2 separate regions of the Homo sapiens genome follow, and region 1 is linked to region 2. The links are contacts of gene promoters, found by promoter capture Hi-C in human tissues and cell types (Jung and others, 2019). All regions are on one chromosome and are shown on one strand. Each heading gives the region's core, a stretch centred on a gene start or on the middle of the fragment in contact. The rest is flanking DNA. Distances are from core to core; before and after follow the strand shown. Region 1 has its middle 64 kb from the start of RDUR. Region 2 holds the start of RPL24 (ribosomal protein L24).

What was found. The method cuts DNA at HindIII sites, captures the fragments that hold promoters and counts their contacts. A contact is called where the count stands out against the background at its distance.
Region 1: a contact is called between a fragment that was not itself captured here and the fragment with the promoter of RPL24 in region 2, in 1 of the 25 tissues and cell types used here (lymphoblastoid cells).

What each region holds. Positions count from the first base shown.
Region 1 is chr3:102,001,488-102,008,026 of GRCh38, reverse strand. No RefSeq gene overlaps it. Among named protein-coding and RNA genes, the nearest start is that of RDUR, 64 kb to the right of the region's middle. The HindIII fragment of the contact is 6,844 bases long and covers 1-6,063 here.
Region 2 is chr3:101,685,350-101,692,538 of GRCh38, reverse strand. It overlaps RPL24 (ribosomal protein L24), which reads left to right and starts at 5,821. Exons shown (of 6, transcript NM_000986.4): 1 at 5,821-5,867; 2 at 5,982-6,057; 3 at 6,611-6,721. The coding sequence starts at 5,863. It overlaps LOC124906262 (endogenous retrovirus group K member 5 Gag polyprotein), which reads right to left. Exons shown (of 3, transcript XM_047449415.1): 2 at 5,150-7,189. The coding sequence starts at 5,160. RefSeq lists enhancers at 4,061-4,614, 5,525-5,574, 5,585-6,074, 5,045-6,244, 6,235-6,424 and 1 more. The HindIII fragment of the contact is 8,226 bases long and covers 3,744-7,189 here.

The DNA.
Region 1 (6,539 bases), core at 1,392-3,891, 320 kb before region 2:
GGTGGCTCACGGCTGTAATCTCAGCACTTTGGGAGGCTGAGGCAGGCGGATCACGAGGTCAGGGGTTCAAGACCAGCCTGGTCTTGAAACCCTGTCTCTACTAAAAATACAAAAATTAGCCAGGTGTGATGGCATGCGCCTGTAATCCCAGCTACTCAGGAGGCTGAGGCAGGAGAATCGCTTGAACCTGGGAGGTGGAGGTTGCAGTGAGCAGTGATCACACCACTGCATTCCAGCCTGGGCGACAGAGTGAGACTCTGTCTCAAAAAAAAAAAAGAATGTCCAATGTATCGCACTAAATTATAGATTAAAGGAGAAAAATTATATTATCAAGAAAAAGCAAAATATTAACCAAACACAAAAATCTGTTCATGATTGAAAAGAAGGAAAAAACCTTTCCACAAACTAGGAATAGAATGGACATTCTACAATCTAATAAAGACATCTATGCCTTTATTAGGCATAATGCATAATTAGGCATTAAGAAAACAAAAAGCTTGTGTTTTCTTAATGGCAAAATATTAAATGTTTTCTCCCTAAAATTGGGAACAGGGTAAAAATGTCTGCTTTTATTGTTTTTATTCAACATTATGTTTGGGTTTCAGCTTCCTTGAGCAGGGAGCTTGCTCTTGAGAGAAGTGACTTCAGCTGAGGCATTTCCCGCAGTGTGGACTGAAAGCTGAGGGTTATTTGCTGGCAGTACTCCCAGAACTTGGTAAGAGCTTCACTCCTGAGGGAGAATTTAAGTGCCTCATTACTGTGTCCATTACATATTTTGTTTCTGAATCCTCTACATGACCTGTTAAACACAATTATAAAATGAAAAAAATACCCAGAAACAGTGCTAAGAAAGCCCCTCAATAGAAACTGTGGGCAAATGTCCTTTGTAGCTCATGAAGAAGGTTGTCCCCATCAGAGGGAAAAAAATATGGCTGCTGAGTTTTAGAACATTTATTTAAAGATAGAGTTTTGTCTATTTACTTCTATCAGAAATTATCAGTGTGTCTATGACTCAAACTTCCTCTAAGTTTTTATGTTCATATATTCATATTCTTTGAGTCATTTGTTCAACAGTAAAATCATCTATAAAGTTAGTCTAATCCCAGCAAAATTTCCACCACAGCTTTCTTTTTTGGAACTTTTCAAACTAATCTCAAAGTGTTTGTGGAATAAAAAATTTGCAAAAATAACCAAAAACCTTTTTTAGAAAGAAATATATAAATGGTGTGGGGAAACATGCCTTACCAGGTATCAAAGCATAAAATAATGTTACAGGAATTCAAGAAGTATATATCTGCCCTAAATTTAGCAAAAAGATGAGTGGACCAATATAGAAATTACAAATAAGACTTATGAATATAAGAATTAACATTTTTGACAAGTAGTAAAATGAAGGAATGTTCCATAAATGTTACTAAAATATATCTAATAAATGCATTATTTTCCGACTCTATCAAAATTAAAAGTTCACAAACACTTCACATTTACCTAGAATGGATAACAGTGGATATTGACTATATACATTTACCGGATCACCTAGGCATCCATCAGAGCAACAGAGGGTAGAGGATAAATCCTACAAATATTCAGGGGCCTGTCACATCAATAAATTTTTTAGGGGGCTAGTGGCCTGAAGTATGCCATGATGTTACCTCCGAAGTAGAGGACAGATTCTTGTACTTTGCACCTCCCACCAAGAAGGAATACAACCCTTAATAGACTTGTTCAAGTTCTGGAGATAGTGTATTGCATATCTAAGATATTGGTTCTACCCATTCACTAGGATACATGAAAGGCTTCCAGCTTTGAGTAGGACCTCGAGCAGAGAAAAGCTATGAAATAGGACTAGATTCTGGTACAAGTGGCCCTGCTTTTTAAATTATATAACCAGTAGTCATTATTGCATTAGAGACATCATTAGTGGGGAAAGATGTTGTGCAAAGTTTATGACAAACACTAATGAGAGAGCAAGATTATGCTCCCTGCAGTGGAGAATTACTCAGCTTACAAATGACAGATTCTGCTGTTCCACTGAACTCTAGTAGAGATGAATAGCTTGTTCGTGGGACATTAAGTGGACAAGTGGCCAGAACTACTGATCATGAGCTGTCAGATCCACAAAATCATAAGGTCAGATGGAACCAGAAGCAGGCCATTAAAATGTGCAAGTGCCACATCTGGGATTTAGCATGAACAAAGCCAGAGAGTTCAAAAAGGACACATGAGCAGCTAGCCTAGATCTGCATGTCATTGTCATCCACCACTACTGCACCAACTCATATATGTGGTCACATAGCAATTACCATGTGACTAGCTCACTATGATCATTTTATGTGTCAACTTGACTGGGCCATGGGATGCACAGATATTTGGTCAAAGAGCATTCTGAGTCTTTTCATAAGGATGTTTTGGGATGAGATTGATATTTAAATCAATAGATTAAGTAAAGCAGATGATCCTCCACAATGTAAGTGAGCCTCATCCAATCAGCTGACAGCCTCAGTAGAAAAAGACTGACCTCTTCCAAGAAAGAATTCTCCTGCCTGACAGCCTTCTAACTGAGACATGAGCTCTGCAGATTTTGGACTTGCCAGTCTTCAAAATCGTCAGTTGATTCCTTATAACCAATATCTTAAGATAAATATAAATCTTTTAGGAAATAGGTAAATAGATTAGATAGGTAGATAGATAGATAGATGATAGATAGATAGATAGATAGATAGATAGATAGATAGATAGATAGAAAATAGATAATAGATAGATAGAGATAATTAATTCAGCTTCTCTGCAGAATGCTGACTAGTAACAGATTTTGGTTCTGAAAGTGGTTCCAGAGGAACAGAATCTGCAGGATGAATTTTCTGAATTGGTTCTAGAGTTTCTGAAATTGGCTCTCTAATCTGGCTAGTTTTAAAGATACGAGTGACTCTATTTCCAGTAGTAAAAATAGCATTGGTAGTCCCTAGCGTGATCTGGACTATCACGAATAATAGAGGTACACAAAATATTACCACTGAATACTCCCAACCAAACACTTATAAGAAGCAAGCATCTAGTGACCATGTATATAATATTTTTGAGCATTGTTGTCAAACTAACAAGTATAATGAGATTGCCTGGTTGTTCCTTGTCACTGAACAAAATGGAGAAAGAAAAGGATGAGCTCAAGCATTAAAGTTTTTTGCATAAAAATGACATGAAAACTTCTATATCTGCCCTAAGACATTTATCTCCTGTAGCTGCAGAACTGACGTAACTGAAACCATACCCAAGCTCTGTATCCTGTGACTGAATTACAATGCAAATTACTTTCCCAGCCTATCATGTATTGTTTTCCTTCTTGATAGGAAGTACATAGTACAATAATCTGCCCTTTATTTTGGAAGTAATGTCCTGGCATGCTCCAGGCCACTAAACTCCTAAACATTTTATTGATGTGATAGGACGCTGAATATTTGTAGGATTTGTCTCCTATTCTCTGATGTTCTGAGGAATGTCCAGGTGATGAAGGTAAATATATATAATCAATATCCACTGTTATCCATTCTAGGTAAAGATGAAGTATTTGTGATTCTTCATTTTGCTACTCATTAAAAGTATTACTCATTCATATATGCATGAGTCTGATGTGGAATCTCTATTTTGGTCCACTCATCTATTTGCTTATCTGGAAGCCATAGACATACTTGTTTTGGGTGTTTTGTTTTTTTTGGTTTTTTTGTTTTGTTTTTTAAGAGACATGTTCTTTTTATGTTAACCAGACTGGACTCAAACATCTGGCCTCAAGTGATCCTCCTGCTTTGGCCTCCTAAAGTGTTGAGATTACAGACATGAATCACCGCACTCAGCCTGAGACATACTTCTTTAATTCCTGTAACATTATTTTATGCTTTGATACCTGGTAAGCCATATTTGTCAACACCATTTATATATCTCTTTTTTAAAAAGTTTATTTGGTTATTCTGTCCACTGATAGAATGAAGGTATCGATTAGGAAAGAACGGGATCCTGAATTTGCAATGGGAATATGTGGGAAGAACCTAATGGAGCGAGGGACAAAAATCCTCCAAATTCTGATGAGTCTTCTTTGCCAGTAGAAGCATCCTCTCCACCCTCATCTATAGGGATTAACCCTGCATTGTCTGAGGAAAAGGTAATGGCCTCCTCTGAGTCCATTGCCTAACAAGGCAATGCCGATTCTCCTCAGGACTTATCCCCAAAACCCCTTTGAATTTTAGACTTACACCTAGACTCAAGTCTCAGCAGGACCCTAATGGTGAGGTACAAAGTGTGACCCTTGAGGTGTGCTACACTCCAAAATAACTACTTGAGTTTTCTAATTTGTACAAACAGAAATCTGGGGAATATATGTGGGAATGGATATTAAGGGTGTGGTATAATGGTGGAAGGAACATAAAGTTGGATGAGGCTAAATTTATTGATATGAGCCCACTAAGCAGAGATTCTGCACTTAATGTTGCAGCTCAGGGAAATAGAAAGGGCTCTAACAGTTTGTGTGGTTGGCTAAAACATGGACCAAAAGGTGGCCCACAGTGTGTTAGAAATGCTGGACTTGCCTTGGTTTAATGTAGAGAAAGGGATTCAAAGGCCCAGAAAGATTGGAATTTTGGAGTAAATTTGTCATTTAAGGTCTACTCACCCACCCTGGCAGGGTCCAGAAGACATAACTTTCACCACAACTGTGAGAAATACATTTTTGAGAGGAGCTCTAACATTTGAAGAGCTGTACAATCACTCTTCTCTGTAGACCAGATCCTGCAATGGGAACTGCAGCCCCTGAATTGGGAAATCTAAATACAACAGTAGTAATTGGATCCCAGGGTGGCAGAAGCCAAGCGGCAGCCCTCAGTAACCACCAAAGGCAAGGTGAGTGTGGTCACCATGATGAAGAGCAGAGTCAAAGCAGTAATCATCCTGTGTGATTGACTAAATGATCATGGTGTTCCTACAAGCTAAAGAGATAAGAAGCCTACTAAATTCTTACTTCATCTATGTAAGCAGAAAAGATCTAGGTCAAGTGAACCGAATTCTAAAGTGAATCAAAAAAACAAAGGAGGCACAGGCCCTCAATTAACCTTCTGATGAGCCAATTTACAGATCAAGGCCCCCTTGAATAAAGGGGAAGCTGGTTCCCCTTGAGGAAGGACATAGCACACTGCCAAATATTTAGACTGTTAATCTTTCTCCCAAAGAGATCTATAGTCTTTTACAAAGGTAAGTATGTACTGAGGGGAGGGGGAAATCAGACCTTTCAGGGACTACTGGACACTGGCTCTGAACTGACACTAATTCCAGGACACTTCAAACATCACTGTGTTTCATCAGTCAGAGAAGGGGCTTATGGCGGTCTGCTAATCAATGGAGTTTTAACTCATGTCTATATCACAGTGGCCTGGTATGCCCCTGAACCTATCCTGTAGTTATTTTCCCAGTTCCAGAATGTATAATTGGAGTAGATATACTCATCAGGTGACAGCCTCCCCACATTGGTTCATTGACCTATGGTGTAAGGGCTACTACAGTAGAAAGGGACAGATGGAAGCAACTAAAACTGCCTCTATCTAAGAAAATAGTAACCAAAAGCAATACCACATTCCTGGAGGGATTGCAGAGATCAGTCCACCATTAAGGACTTGAAAGATTCAGGGGTGGTGATTCCCACCATATCCTCATTCAACTCACCTATTTGGCCTTTGTAAAAGACAGATGAATGACAGATCATTGTGAGATTAGTACAGTGACTCTAACTACAGCTGCTATACCAGGTGTGGTTTCATAACTTGAACACACCAACACATCCCCTGACACCTTGTATTTTCCTGGTATTTCTTGATACCCATTAGTAAAGACCACCAGAAGCAGTATGCTTTCAGCTGGCAGAGCCTGCAGTACATCTTCACTGTCCCACCTCACGGATATATCAACTCTTCTTCCCTATATCATAATTTCATTTGCAGGAATCTTTTTTTTTTTTTCCTTTTCAGACCAGAGTCTCACCCTGTCACCCAGGCTGGAGTACAGTGGTGCAACCTTGGCTCACTGCAACCTCCACTTCCCAGGTTCAAGCAATTGTTGTGCCTCAGCCTCCCAAGTAGCTGGGATTACAGATGTGCACCACCACACCCAGCTAATTTCCTGTATTTTTAGTAGAGGCAGGTTTTCACTGTATTGGCCAGGCTGATCTTGAACTCCTGGCCTCAAGTGATCAGCCCGCCTTGGCCTCCCAAAATGCTGTGATTACAGGCATGAATGACCATGCCCAGCTGTTTGCAAGATTCTTAATCACTCTTCTCTTCCACTCTTCCCTTCCCTTTTATTTCACTGACCAAACACATTGATGACTTTATGCTAATGGGGTCTAGCGACCAAGAAGTAGCTACAACTCTAGATATCTTGGTAAGACATTTGAGTGTCAGAGGGAGGGAAATAAATCCAAGAAAAATTCAGGTATCTACCTCAGTGAAGTTTCTAGGGTTCCAGTGGTGTGTGGCAAGTTGAGATAGCCCTTCTAAGGTGAA
Region 2 (7,189 bases), core at 4,572-7,071:
AAACATCTCAATGCTTTACAAAGCAGTATTGCTGCCGGCTTGTCCCACACCTCCAGCCCTAAGGCGTTTTCTTCCTATCTCAGTAGATGGAACGTACAATCAATCGGGTTTTATACCGAGACATTCCATTGCCCAGGGACGGGCAGGAGACAGATGCCTTCCTCTTGTCTCAACTGCAAGAGGCATGCCTTCCTCTTACACTAATCCTCCTCAGCACAGACCCTTTACGGGTGTCAGGCTGGGGGACGGTCAGGTCTTTCCCTTCCCACGAGGCCATATTTCAGACTATCACATGGGGAGAAACCTTGGACAATACCTTGCTTTCCTAGGCAGAGGTCTCTGCGGCCTTCCGCAGTGTTTGTGTCCCTGGGTACTTGAGATTAGGGAGTGGTGATGACTCTTAAGGACCATGCTGCCTTCAAGCATTTGTTTAACAAAGCACATCTTGCACAACCCTTAATCCATTTAACCCTGAGTTTGACACAGCACCTGTTTCAGAGAGCACGGGGTTGGGGGTAAGGTCATAGATTAACAGAATCTCAAGGCAGAAGAATTTTTCTTAGTACAGAACAAAATGGAGTCTCCTATGTCTACTTCTTTCTACACAGACACAGTAACAATCTGATCTCTCTTGCTTTTCCCCACAACCTCAGCCTCTCAGAGTGCTGGGATTACAGGCATGAGCCACCGCGCCCAGCCTCCCTTTTAAAGCACTTTCTGAAGTCAAGCCTGATTCAGGATTGCAAGCCTGCAGAGAACTATGGTGGTAAAGCCTAAAAAGATAGAATCCTTCCCACACCTGAGAAGGCAGTATTTTTAGAAGGAAACAACAGAATCACACTTAAGTCACTGCAAAGGCATTCATGTTTATACATTTCTGAAACTGTCTTACTTGAACTTTATGTGGCTTTTAGCACTGTCAAAATGCTTCCATAAGCTTCTATGAGGTTACTGTTATGGATCTCTATCTTCTTTGACCTCATCTGCTCAGCCTCCTTCAATTGATTATTTTCCTCCATTCACCTATCCTTTAAATATTAGTATTTCCTGATTCTTTTTCTTTTTTCTTTTCTTTTCTTTTTTTTTTTTTTTTGAGATGGAGTCTCACTCTGTCACCCAGTCTGGAGTGCAGTTGTGTGACCTCACCTCACTGCAACCTCCAACTCCCTGGTTTAAGTCATTCTCCTGCCACAGTCTCCTGAGTAGCTGGGATTATAGGCACCTGCCACTACACCAAGCTATCCTGATTCTTTTTGTGATGACTCACTCTAGGCACCATTTCTAGGGGTGGTAGACACAGAAACATACTATCCAGATCCCCCTTCAAGCAAGGGCTTGCTGCCTCACAGTGGGCAGCATGGGCAGCAGCATCCTCCAGCTATCAGTAGGGCCTGGCTCAGCTGCTGAGTACTTCCTCACTTGAGGTCATGACCTCTCTGGGGCAGCCCCCATATGGTGACTGAGTAAGGTAGAAGTATAAAGAGGCTTCACATTTAGCCCAACACAGAACACTCCAACAAACAATAATTGTTCCATAGCTCCTGGCAGGGTTGACTGAAGTTTATTGATTGATTGATTGCAGTGGTGCGATCATAGCTCACTTCAGCCTCAAACTCCTGTGCTCAAGCAATCCTCCCACCTTGGCCTCCCAAAGTGCTGGCATTACAGGCATAAGCCACCACACACGGCCTGACTGAGGTTTAGTTGGGCCTATAACATATGCAACTTCTTCCTCTGCCTAACACTGTTTTCTCCCCCTTCCCTTCACAAGACTTGATCTGTAACAAATATCTTGAACCCCAAAGTCAGTCTCAGTAACTGTTTCCAGAGAAGCCAGCTTGTGACAGTAGGTGACGTTATCCCACATATTCTGTCACCATAAGTTCATTACTACTAAAATATATCCTTGGCTGGACATGGTGGCTCACGCTTGTGATCCCAGCACTTTGGAAGGCTGAGGTGGGCTGCTCGCTTGAGTCCAGTTCAAGACCTGCCAAGGCAACATGGTGAAACCCCATCTCCACCAAAAATACAAAAAATTAGCTGGCCATGGTGGCAAACACCTATAGTCCCAGCTATTCATGGGGCTGAGGTGGGATGATCACTTGAGCCCAGGAGGTAGGGACTGCAGTGAACCCTGATCATCCACTGCACTTCAGCCTGGGAGACAAGGTGAGGCCCTATCTCAAAAAAAAATTAAAACATAAAATAAATCATATTACAAACACTCTTCTGAACATGTTTAACTTCCCACTACACAGTTGTACCTTAATATCCCTATCAGCATCTTGAACCCAGCCTTTTCAAAATTAACCCTTTCGGGCTGAGCGCAGCGGTTCATGCCTATAATCCCAGCACTTTGGGAGGCCGAGGCGGGTGGATCACCTGAGGTCAGGAGTTCGAGACCAGCCTGACCAATATGGAGAAATCCCATCTCTACTAAAAATACAAAATTAGCTGGGTGTGGTGGCACATGCCTGTAATCCCAGCTACTCGGGAGGCTGAGGCAGCAAAATCACTTGAACCCAGGAGGCGGAAGTTGTGGTGAGCCAAGATCATGCCATTGTACTCCAGCCTGGGCAACAAGTCTCCAAAAAAAAAAAATTAACCCTTTCCCTGACAAACCTACTCCCTTCCTCTTATCTGTCAACTCTTGACAAATGATACCACGATTCACCAAGTCCTCATTGTCAATTTTTCCTTACCTCCTATATTACCTATTTCTATATTAACAAATTACTCCCCTAAACAGTTTAAAACAACACACATTTATGATCTAACAGTTTCTATGGGTTAGGAATTCAAGAGTGGTTTAGATGAGTGGAAATTGGAAGAGCAAGGAACACGTTCTGCCTTAGATCCTTGATCCAGAGAGCACAAAGATACCTTGATTTCAGCCTAGTGATACTGATTTTGAACTTACTGCCTCCAGAACTGTGAGAAAATATGTATCTGTGTTGTTACCAAGTCCATAGTAATTTGTTACAGCAACTACAGGAAACTAATATAGCAGGGAAATATGTACAAATGGGTGACGAAACTGTGAAGGGAAGCAACACACTGTTCTCACAGGGACAGAGGCTGAAAAGGGCACCAAGTTTGGTTCAGTATTGCTCCATAAATGAATAAAAAGAGAATAGAGTGTAGCTGAACCTTTTGCCTATGATAAAAGCAAAAGCATGGATAAAGTCAGCAATAATTTACGGATGGTGTCAGAAGCTCTACTTTATGACACTGTATAATATAAATTCATTTAGAGGTCTCTCTCTGCAAAATTTCTCCCTATTCTAAGAGCATTTTGAGCACAATTTGTTTGTTATGGGAGTGTGTTACAAGGAACCCTGACAAGAAGGCCCTCCAGTAAAGAGTGAAATACAGCCAAAATCCCTAAGGTCCAGTTTCCTGCATTTCTTCCACAGAACCAGTCAGGCCAAACGTAATTTTAAAGAACAATAAAACAAAATCTTTCTAAAATATTGGGAAGGGACTATAAATTCTGAGGTTCTGTGGAACAAAAAAGGACTGCATTCCTTCAGGTGGATCTTGGTTCCACCGGCTACCTAAACTCAGCTGTGCCTTGGATCTTGTAGAAGCCAGGACTATTTCTGAAAGATGTTTTGTTTTGGTTTTTTGTTGTTGTTGTTTGTTTGTTTTCACACGGAGTCTCGCTCTGTCGCCCAGGCTGGAGTGCAGTGGTGCGATCTTGGCTCTCTGCAACCTCCGCTTCCCGGGTTCAAGCGATTTTCCTGCCTCAGCCTCCCGAGTAGGTGGGACTACAGGCGCGCACCACCACACCAGGCTAATTTTTTTTTTTTTTTGTAGAGGCGGGGTTTCATCGTGTTACCCAGGCTGGTCTCAAACTCCTGACCTCGTGATCCGCCCGCCTCGGCATTCCACAGTGCCGGGATTACAGACGTGAGCCGCTGCACCCGGCCTCCTTTTTTTTTTTTTTTTTGATATGGAGTTTTGCTCTTCTTGCCCAGGCTGGAGTGTAGTGGCGCGATCTTGGCTAAATGCAACCTCTGCCTCCCGGGTTCAAGCGATTCTCCTCCCGCAGCCTCCCGAGGAGCTGGGATTACAGGCGTGCGCCACCACGCCCAGCTAATTTTTGTATTTTTAGTAGAGAAGGGGTTTCACCATTTTGACCAGGCTGGGCTGGAACTCCTAACCTCAGGTGATCCGCCCACCTCGGCCTCCCAAAGTGCCGTAATTACAGGCATGAGCCGCCATGACTGGCCACCTAACATCATTCTTAAGACTGGTTCCAGGCCCGGCGCGGTGGCTCACGCCTGTAATCCTAGCACTTTGGGAGAACGAGTGGATCACCTGAGGTCAAGAGTTTGGGACCAGCCTGGACAACATGGTGAAACCCCATCTCTACTAAAAATACAAAAATTAGCCGAGCGTGGTGGCAGGCGCCTGTAATCCCAGCTACTCGGGAGGCTGAGGCAGGAGAATCAATCGTTTGAACCCAGAGGGCGGAGGTTGCAGTGAGCCGAGACCGCGCCACTTCACTCCAGCCTGAATGAAAGAGCGAAACTCCGTCTCAAGGAAAAAAAAAAAAAAAAAAGACTGGCTCCAACACAATTGTACAGTTTTCATGACATTAGTCAGCCAACTTGTTAGACATTCCAAATATCTTCAACCAGCTACCTTACAAAACGTTTTTAGGGTGAGTTGCATACATAGAAAGCAGAACTCAGTCATTACATTTGTTTCCTAGTCATATACTGCAACCTCCCACAGAATTCAAGAATTGCCTCTGGCCACTCCTTGTCATACGATGAAATATGTAGCATCATAGAAGGGCTCAACAGATTGAGCCCTTGGCCTCCCAGCGGGGCTCCACCGACCCCCTCAACTTCACTAGGCAGCAACTCCGAATTGTAGTTCTTAGGCAGGTACTTAATAGGAATTTTGGAAACTGAATGAGCTCATGTTTAAAAAGCCTTTGGCATAATTCCCGGCACAGAGAAAGCGCTCAAAGAATGTTAATTATAATTAATGCAAAGCGCCAACGCGCACTGTTCGATTCGCACAGCCTGAGAAACGGTTCGGTTGTCATTACTTTCTTATAAATGGTGAAACTATTAATTTGTTTGGTTGAGGAAATGGGCCAACAGGGAAGGCAAAATGTGACTGGTTTTACCTGCGGGGCATTCGTCTTTGGGTCTCTTTATGAGAAGAGAGGACACCTTTCTCTTCAGTTCACATTCCCTGCAGCCGGAAGATGGCTCTAGGATACTTGGCAGTAAGAGAGGCAGAATGGGCCGGGCGCAGTGGCTCCCGCCTATAATCCCAACACTTTGGGAGGCCGAGGAGGGCGGACCACCTGAGGTCAGGAGTTCGAGACCAGCCTGACCAACATGGAGAAACCCCGTCTCTACGAAAAATACAAAATTAGCCGGACGTGGTGGCACATGCCTGTAATCCCAGCTACTAGGGAGGCTGAGGCAGGAGAATCGCTTGAACCTGGGAGGCGGAGGTTACGGTGAGCCGAGATTGCGCCACTGCACTCCAGCCTGGGCAACAAGAGCGAAACTCCGTCTCAAAAAAAAAAAAGAGAGGAGAGACAGAGACAGAATGACTCATAAACCAACTGTCTGACTGCCTTTTTGGCAGGCCCTCTGGGCCCGAGAACCCTCCAGCGCCTCTGGATGAATTGCGCCAGAGGAAGTCAGCTGTCAGGGAAAACGAGATCTTTCGCCTCGCGATGATTACGTCATCAAGGAGGGCCAGGAGCATCGAAGGATATTGGGGAGGAGATTTCCGGCCCCCATCCCCGCAGCGACCTTATAAGGTCTCTTCCCATGATTCTCTCTTTCTTTTCGCCATCTTTTGTCTTTCCGTGGAGCTGTCGCCATGAAGTAAGCACGACCCGTGGTTCCCAATCCGCTTACATCCTCGGGCAGAACTCCTCTCTGTCGTCCCTGGCATGGCTGTAGACACCCTCCCTGATGGACTTTCACTTTTTGTTGCAGGGTCGAGCTGTGCAGTTTTAGCGGGTACAAGATCTACCCCGGACACGGGAGGCGCTACGCCAGGACCGACGGGAAGGTAAAAAGCCGCGTCGGCTTCACCTACCTTCTTGTACTCCGAGGAGGAAAGGCTGGTTTAATTCGGTTTAGGCGGGTTTATTCCCCACATCACCACTGGCCTCTGGAAGTCTTCGTGGACGCTCTGTGGACTGGTCGTTAGGACCAGAAACCTCTAAGTGAACCAGTGTTGATTATTTATTGTGAGCCAGGTCGGACATCAGGAGGGGTTTATGTAACTGATGTCCCGGTGTAAGGGAAATAACTGAGGTACGGAGGTACCCTTTGGAATCCTGGGACGGACAAGAGCAGAATGCTTCCCAGAAGGACGCACCACCCTGTCCTTTGCTATGAGCCTAGATTTCCTGCTCTCGAGAAAAGACTAAACGCAAGGACCTTCATAGTGTGACACAGTTACCTGCCAGTTATGTGACAGCCTTTTGGTCCTTGTGGGCCTCAGTTTTGTAAAATGATAAGCCAGAACTAGCATATTGATCTTCTAAGGATTCCAAGCTTACTCAGCCTCTTGTACTTTGTATAGTTAAATAGTAATTCCTTTGCATTTGTCACTCTAGGTTTTCCAGTTTCTTAATGCGAAATGCGAGTCGGCTTTCCTTTCCAAGAGGAATCCTCGGCAGATAAACTGGACTGTCCTCTACAGAAGGAAGCACAAAAAGGGACAGTCGGTAAGTGGAATACGCCTTGATGTTGGGGGCTATCTCTTAAGTTGTCAAAGCTCTCTGAACGTTGGTTTTCTGCTCTGTAAAATTAAATCAGACTGTATGCGAAAGAGCTCTTAAACTGTAAAGCGTCAGCAAAATGAAAAAGATATTATAAACTGTCTCTATATATTTTAGGCTAGTAGCAATACCGAGTTGAAATTTTAAAGTCAGATAAATTACGTTAAGCACCTTTGCGTTATAGGGCAGGGTGGAAGGGCTTAGTTTTCCAGTGGGAGGAAATTGAGAAGTTACCATAATTTGGTTTTGATTGCAATATTTACAGGATTAGTCCTAACATAGCCAGTGGACCATGAACCAGTCCACCATACACTAGTTCATTCACTAGAAAAACAGTGGTTTTTCTGGTCCTTGTTAAGTGTCCTTTTAGCTGGGTTATACATGAGAAAAAGTTTGAGTGCCATGGTAGGACTA